Linked DNA regions of Homo sapiens: region 1 is linked to region 2. Evidence: promoter capture Hi-C in human tissues and cell types (Jung and others, 2019). All regions are on one chromosome and are shown on one strand. Each heading gives the region's core, a stretch centred on a gene start or on the middle of the fragment in contact. The rest is flanking DNA. Distances are from core to core; before and after follow the strand shown. Region 1 has its middle 90 kb from the start of PARP8. Region 2 holds the start of EMB (embigin).

Region 1 (3,479 bases), core at 1-2,500, 130 kb after region 2:
TGTTTATAAAATTAGTCAATGCTATTTTATTTTATTTTTATGATTACCTTTGGATGTATCATTATAAATAACCAATAAATTTTTTCCTTCTGAAAGGTAAACTTGCACATTATTGTGTATGCAGTTAGCATTCAAAGAATACTTACAAATTATCTACTAATCTGAGTGATATGAAATTTCCATTTTCATGAATTGAATGTAATTTTATCAACAATCTCACATGCCAAAGCTCATATCTAATTCTTGGCAGTCACCTTTTCTAAATCAACTAGCTTATATTTTATTTGTGAATATCTTTTAAAAATTCAGGTTTGTCTGTTCATGTCACAAAAGTTTAGCGAAATTTTTTCTCTTCTTAGTGTAAACATTTGCTCTTTATGACAAGTAAATCATATTTCTTCATAGTATAATTATTTCAAGTATTTAAAAAATATTTTCCTTTATAAGTTGTGTGTGTGTGTGTGTGTGTGTGTGTGTGTGTGACAGAGTCTCACTCTGTCACCCAGGCTGGAGTACAGTGGCATGATCTCTGCTCACTGCAACCTCCACCTCCCAGGTTCAAGTGATTCCCCTGCTTCAGTCTCTTGAGTCGCTGGAATTATAGGTGCCTGCCACCATGCCCAGTGAATTTTTGTATTTTTAGTAGATACGAAGTTTCGCCATGTTGGCCAGTCTGGTCTCAAACTCCTGACCTCAAGTGATCCACCCACCTCAGCCTCCCAGAGTACTGGGATTATAGGTGTGCACCACAACACCCAGCCTCTTATAAGTCTTAACACACTTTTCTGTAAGTCACTGATTTTAATTATATTCATTTAATGTTAAAGAAAAAAAGTGTGAGTAGGTGAATTAAACCAGAATATTTCAGCTTTGTGTTTTCTTAGACTCGATATACTATCTATATGCATATAAATCACAAATTAGCTAACAATGTTATTTTTAAACACTATTTTAAAATTGAGTTTATCCAAACATAAAAAGGCAAATTCCTTATGTTACCATTGCACCAGGGGCTTAGTTAGGTTTTTTAACTATTTCAGTAACAGTCAATCCTAGAACATTTTTCTTTATCCTACTCTCTTTCTTTCCCTCTTACAACAGAATATTTCACAATGAGAAATACAAATCTCCCTGTATGCTACAAATAGAAATCACGAATGTTGATAATGTCTAATAAAAGCATACGTAAGATGACTGTACATGTTTCATCACTGATTAAACTGTTATATTTTTTCTCTCCCACAAACCAACAGGATGTCCACAAATAATACATAACATTATAAAGATGACACACTCAGATTGTCACTGTGTTCTCTTTACTGCCTTTTCTATTCTCTTTTCTATAATGTAGTTCACTTTGCAAGATCGTTTGTCTACTAAAATGTGGACATAGCTATGCTTTCAAAATGTTGGTATCCCAGAGCACCTGCATTTCCCAGAAGGTAATTCTAGTTCTTTCCCTTAATGTTTAATAAGATTCTTTGTCTATATAATGAATTCACTCATCCACATCTCAGTTTTCTACCCTTTAATTTTAGTGTATGTGCATTTAGAGATTGTTTTGATTATTCTCTATGCTCTTTTCTTGGGCAGATGCTTTTTTGCTTACCTAGGAATTTTATGTTGACTTTATCTAATAGTTATGTAAACACTTTCATGTGCCAATTCTGCATTGTCCCAGTTCCAGTTTCAGCAGCCCCTCAGAGATGTTCATTCACAATCTTATCATTTGTTTCTTACACAGCAGAATATGCAAGATATTACATATTCTGGTATGAATATGTAATATACATAAACATATTCATATACTTCATGTACATGTGCCCTGGCCACATAGCTGATCCACTGTTAGAACTTGTCTCCAGGGTTTTAATTTCTCTCTCTCCTTTATATTGAAACTAGAAACCAAACTCTAGACAGTCTTACACTGAGTTTTCCTAGTCATTAATCTATGTCTTCATAGCTTAATTTTGAATAACAAGTGCAAAAATCACACTATTTTTTCTGTTGGATTGTCAAAATAAGATTGGTTACCAAATGACATGGCTGTCTTCTGAAGCTCTAACAAATAGGAGAATCATAAAGTCAAGTTGGTTCTATTAAAGTGAACGAGTAAAATCCTCTCTGTGACTGAAGGACTGAAAAGAAAAAGGCAGCCCTGCTGTTAATCAGGCAGGGAGGACAGATGGATAAAGGCAGCTGCAAAGTTAACAGCAAATGTTTTTTCCAAGGTCTTGTAGCAGCTATAAAATGCCATCATGATTCTCTCCTTGAGTGACCACTGCTTTGTTACCCATGACACCCCCAGACCTGCTTTGTCACATCTGTTATTGGGGATATCCAGTTGCTAAACTGCCCTCATCTCAAGACAGTACTCAGTTCCTAGCTAATTCTCACTTCTCCTAATCTTGCAACAGAAAGATTATCCAACCCAGAGATGCTCTCCATTCCCTTAGAGCTTGCTCATAACCCTCCAGCAGGAACCCAAATCTTGTAGAGTGCACATTTGAGGTTCTCTGGAATGTGCTCCCTTTCCTGCAAATCAATAAATCTGATTTTGTCAAACTATAGGTTTGAGCTGGGTAGTCTTTGGCTGGTTAAGCTTTGACAGATATCAAATAGAAAATATAGAAGAAAAAGAAACTGGAGAGTTTGAATAATCTTGTCAGATATTTGGAGTTTTAAAATAAGATTTCCCAAATGTCAGAAGTTTTTTCCAGGGCCTATACATTATAAGAAAAAAGTCTTTTAAAAATCAAATGTTTTCAAGAAACACAAAGTATTTCAGGCTTCATGATTTCTCCCAGAGTTGACAACTTCCAAAAATAAAAATTTCTTCCTTTAAAATTGCTTTAAGTATTCTCACCACACACACACACACACACACACACACACACAAATAGGTATATGAGGAGAATTTTTTAAATTAGTGAAAAAATTAATTAAAAATAAAATATAAACTTTATTTCTCAACATAAGCTCCATCAAGTTCAAGGCACTTCTTTAAGAGTTGATACCAGGCATTTAGTTTATCCCTAAAGAACTGAGAGTCCTGGGAATTTAAAAATGTTAATGCAGTCTTTTTTACACTATTAACTGAAGAAAAATGAGGGTCCTTTAATCGTTTTTTTTAATTAAAAAGAAAAGTCAGAAGGAGACAAATCAGGACTGTAAAGTGGATGCCTAAAAATTTTATATTGAAACTCTCAAAAAATTGTACTTGCTTGGTGAGAGGAATTAGCAGGAGCATCGTTGTGGTGGAGAAAGACTCTATAACGAAGCTTTTCTGGGTATTTTTCCGCTAAAGCTTTGGCTAACTTTCTCAAAACATTCTCATCATAAACAAATGTTATTGTAACAGTGGAGGGAGACTTAGCATGACTGAATCCTTTTTGCCTCTCACCATCCCCAGTGATAATATCCTTTAAGTTAAAAGCCTCTGTTTAGCTTTGCATGTAGACCAGCTAATTATAGGAATA
Region 2 (3,859 bases), core at 927-3,426:
GAGTTTTGCGGGAAAAGATCCAGGTATCAGGATTTTTCAAGCTCTCTGGTGATTCTGACATACAGTCAAGTAGAGAATCAAAGTTCTACAATGAATCCAGAATGCACTGGTTCTCAGAACTGCAATACTCTGAGGTGAACCAGGGATAGAAGAATTGGAGATACCCAGAAGGGGGAAAAATGTCCTGGACAATTCTGTTTCTTTTTCTTTCTTTTTTTTTGAGACAGTTTTGCACTGTCACCCAGGCTGGAGCTTAGTGGCACCATCACCATCATAGCTCACTGCAGCCTCAAACTTTGGACTGAAGCAATCTTTCTGCCTTGGCATCCCAAGCACCTGGGACTACTGGTGTACATCACCACAACCGCACTTTTAATTTTTTTTTTTTTTTTTTTAATAAAGAAGGGACCTTGCTATGTTGCCCGGGGTGGTCTTGAACTCCTGGATTCCAGCCATCCTCCCACCTCAGCGCCCAAAAGTGCTGGGATTACAGGCCTGGACAATTCTTTATAAGTGGTATTATGGAAAAGAGATGTGGCACAAGGAAATCTGCGAAGGAACCCACGATGTTCTGTCCAAGTTGTTAACAACTAGACGTTTTAAAAGGCATTTATAAAAATTAATAGTCTTACCTTTTGATTATCCTTCCTTCTCTATGGTGTGTTACAAAAATTCCACATCTTACAAGCCCATGAAAATAAATTCCCATGAGAGTTTGAAAACTTTTTGCAGAATAATGTCCCAATTTTAGTTACTGGTGGCCAATATTTACCAGCTTGAGAGGTGGTCTTTTATTACCCTTACTGGCTGGTAACATTTATGACACAGAAACTTGCAATAGGTTGGATGGAATCCTTTCAATATGAAAAGTAATTATAAACAGGTGAAGGTAGAATGGCAACTTTCGTGTTGGCTTTGTTAATGTTTTGCACGTAATCCCTCTGTCAAAGTGTCTTAAACAATAAAACAACAAGCAAAAATCTCACACATACACACACACACATGCACACACACATTTTGTTTTCAAAGACCACGGTGTAAAATGAAGATACACACACGTTATCCTGTAAGTTGTGGATCTTTGGTTGGCTAGTTGGTTATGATGTTTTTTCCCCTACTCAGCTCTAAAAAAACATCCTCGGCAAGGTGAGGTGGCTCACGCCTGTAATCCCAGCACTTTGGGAGGCCGAAGCGGGCGGATCACCTCAGGTTGGGAGTTCGAGACCAGACTGACCAATGTGGAGAAGCCCAGTCTCTACTAAAAATATAAAATTAGCCCGGCGTGGTGGCGCATGCCTGTAATCCCAGCTACTCTGGAGGCTGACAGAGGAGAATCGCTTGAACCCGGGAGGAGGAGGTTGCGGTGAGCCGAGATCACGCCATTGCACTCCAGCCTGGGCAACAAGAGTAAAACTCCGTCTCAAAAAAAAAAAAAAAAAAAAAAAAAAAATCCTCAAAGCCAACCCACCTGCCAAGAGGAGGGAAGGAGGTGATACTCGAGCCTTACTCTCGAATCAAGAAAAGGGAGTAGGCCTTGGGGAAATGTGGCTTTCAAAATTCATGCCATATTTGCCCAAGCCAAGTCGCTAGCTGGTCCCTGCAACCACCCACACACCCCACTGCCTTCTTCCTAGGAAAAACCAGACTCTGCCCTGTTACCTACGCGCCCGACTCGCGGGGCGCTGTTCGTTCAAGACTCGCCCCAAAGAGCGCAGGAACGCGAGCCGCAGCAGTTTCAGGGTTCAGCTTAGGTGACACAAACGTAGCTAATGGGAGGCCGCCGCCGACTCTCCCACCCGCCCTTACCAGCATCCCCGCGCCTCTCCCCGCCACCCTTGCCCGGCGCGCCGGCGATGCCCTCTGCCCGCGGGGACCCGAGCCTCGCGCGCCCTCCGCCCTCCCTACCCTGGACCCTGTACCCATCACACCTGGGGCACTGCCGTCCGCCGAGCTTGGGCGCGCGGCAGCGAGAAGGCACTGGAGGAGGAGCAGCCGGGGCGTACGCGCCCTGGCCTCCAGCAGGCCGGGGAGGGCGCGCATGGCGCCAGAGGGTCCGCCTGGGTCCTCGTGGAGACTGCTCCCTCAGCTCGCCGCCGCGGGTGTCCAGAGTCCCTGCGCACACTCGCAGGTGGCCCGGCGCTCGCAGCCAGTGCCGCGGGTAGGACGCTGAAGAAAAGGCGGAATGGGAGGGGCCCGGCCGCCTTGCCCCACTCCCCCGAGACGCTCTTACCGCGCCCGGCCCTCCATCAGTTATGCAGCCCTCAGCCGGCTGCTGGCGTTCCCGGATGTGCGGTGGCGGTGCTACTTCCCGGCTGCAGCCTCTCCGGCCTCCGCCCTCTCGGCTCTAGCAGGTCGGGAGAGAGCTTGGGCAGGTGATGTCTAGCCAATCTCGTGGGGAGAGGTCGAAACTCTGCCTACAGACTGGCCTTTGCACTTCACCTGAGGCAGGTTTCACTAATTTGCTTTGATGGGACAGATGAGAAACACTTTTCTCCTCCCGGACCCCGGACATCTTTGGGCTTTCTTACGAGGGAGGCTTATTTTTGCGCAGGTGTAAGGTTTTATCCAGCTGCCAGACAACTTGTGTTAATCTTTCTTTGCTTTGCCTACCAATCACACACATTCTCTCTTCTAGTCTCTGAAGGCTTAACTGATTTTCTCCGGATGAAGGTTTTAGAGTCCCAAGGCCCCATACCGTGTCTGATTTTACTTTATTTTTGTTTGTTAAGCCTAACAGCTTCTGAGGAGCCACCTAGAGCTCAAGAAGCAAAAGCTACTGAGAGTAGATACTATGTAAACTGCACAAGACATTGACCTTTGTTAAATCCGAACACTCTTTAAGATAATGCTCTTACCCACAAGGCTGTAGCTTGGAATATTCAGTGCTCTGAACCAAATTAAATAAATTAGTGCTTTATCCGGGAGGGGAGGAGAAATCTATATTGTAACATTGAAACACATTGATTTGATTTCTCTCCAGGATGTTATAACGCATTAAAAGATATTTTTAAAATTTTTCACGAGCTTTGTTTCCTCTCCCTTTATTTTTTTGAAGTTCAGCTTTCACATTCGTAAATTCAAAATATATCGGCGTTAAAAAAAAAAGGATTGGAAATAACATGAGACAAATTTTGAAAATTGAGCTATTTAACAAAACCTGTGTTTATTCCAGGCAGGAATGGTTAATTTGTAATTGGTACGTATTACTAAAACACGTCTGTTTCTGGTTTAGTATTATATGCACAAAACTTTGGAAACAGAATGTAGATTCTTCAAATTGGCAGTGAGATAATATGAATAATACAATTCATTCAACAATATTATCTACCAGGTGCCAATCTACCATTGTGTTCAAAAGAGGCTAGATAGGCACACATGCACAAATGCACGCATGCACACATGTACACACACACACACACAAATTAGACAACTGTTTATCTGTGAATGACAAATCTCAGAAAAGCCTCTTCTCAGAAAATTATGGTCAAAATTATTAAAATCTTCTGAATGAAACTTTAAAAGATGCCTTCAAGGACTAAATCTTATACACTGTTGACCCTCTGAGGGCATTGACTGGGCTTGCTAAACCCAAATTGCCTAATCAATGGCTGCTACATCACACCTCTTTCTTTCAACCCTGCATCTGGTCTCAGGACTAACTGCACACATTTCCCTATAATTAGGTAGAGTGTCAACAGTAAGCACTTCTCACCTCAAACTAAACTCTGACTGACTTTTCCCAGTTAGTCTCATAAAATCCTTAGACACAAATTCACCCTTCTTAAAGAAACATTTTTTTCAGTTGAATCAGCCTATTTATGACCAGAAAAACTTACTTACCCAAGTTGATGCTGATCCC

What was found. The method cuts DNA at HindIII sites, captures the fragments that hold promoters and counts their contacts. A contact is called where the count stands out against the background at its distance.
Region 1: a contact is called between a fragment that was not itself captured here and the fragment with the promoter of EMB in region 2, in 1 of the 25 tissues and cell types used here (H1 embryonic stem cells).

Annotation. Positions count from the first base shown.
Region 1 is chr5:50,574,690-50,578,168 of GRCh38, forward strand. No RefSeq gene overlaps it. Among named protein-coding and RNA genes, the nearest start is that of PARP8, 90 kb to the right of the region's middle. The HindIII fragment of the contact is 3,381 bases long and covers 1-2,941 here.
Region 2 is chr5:50,439,112-50,442,970 of GRCh38, forward strand. It overlaps EMB (embigin), which reads right to left and starts at 2,177. Exons shown (of 9, transcript NM_198449.3): 1 at 1,929-2,177. The coding sequence starts at 2,040. RefSeq lists silencers at 1,721-1,910, 1,991-2,120. The HindIII fragment of the contact is 6,914 bases long and covers 1,154-3,859 here.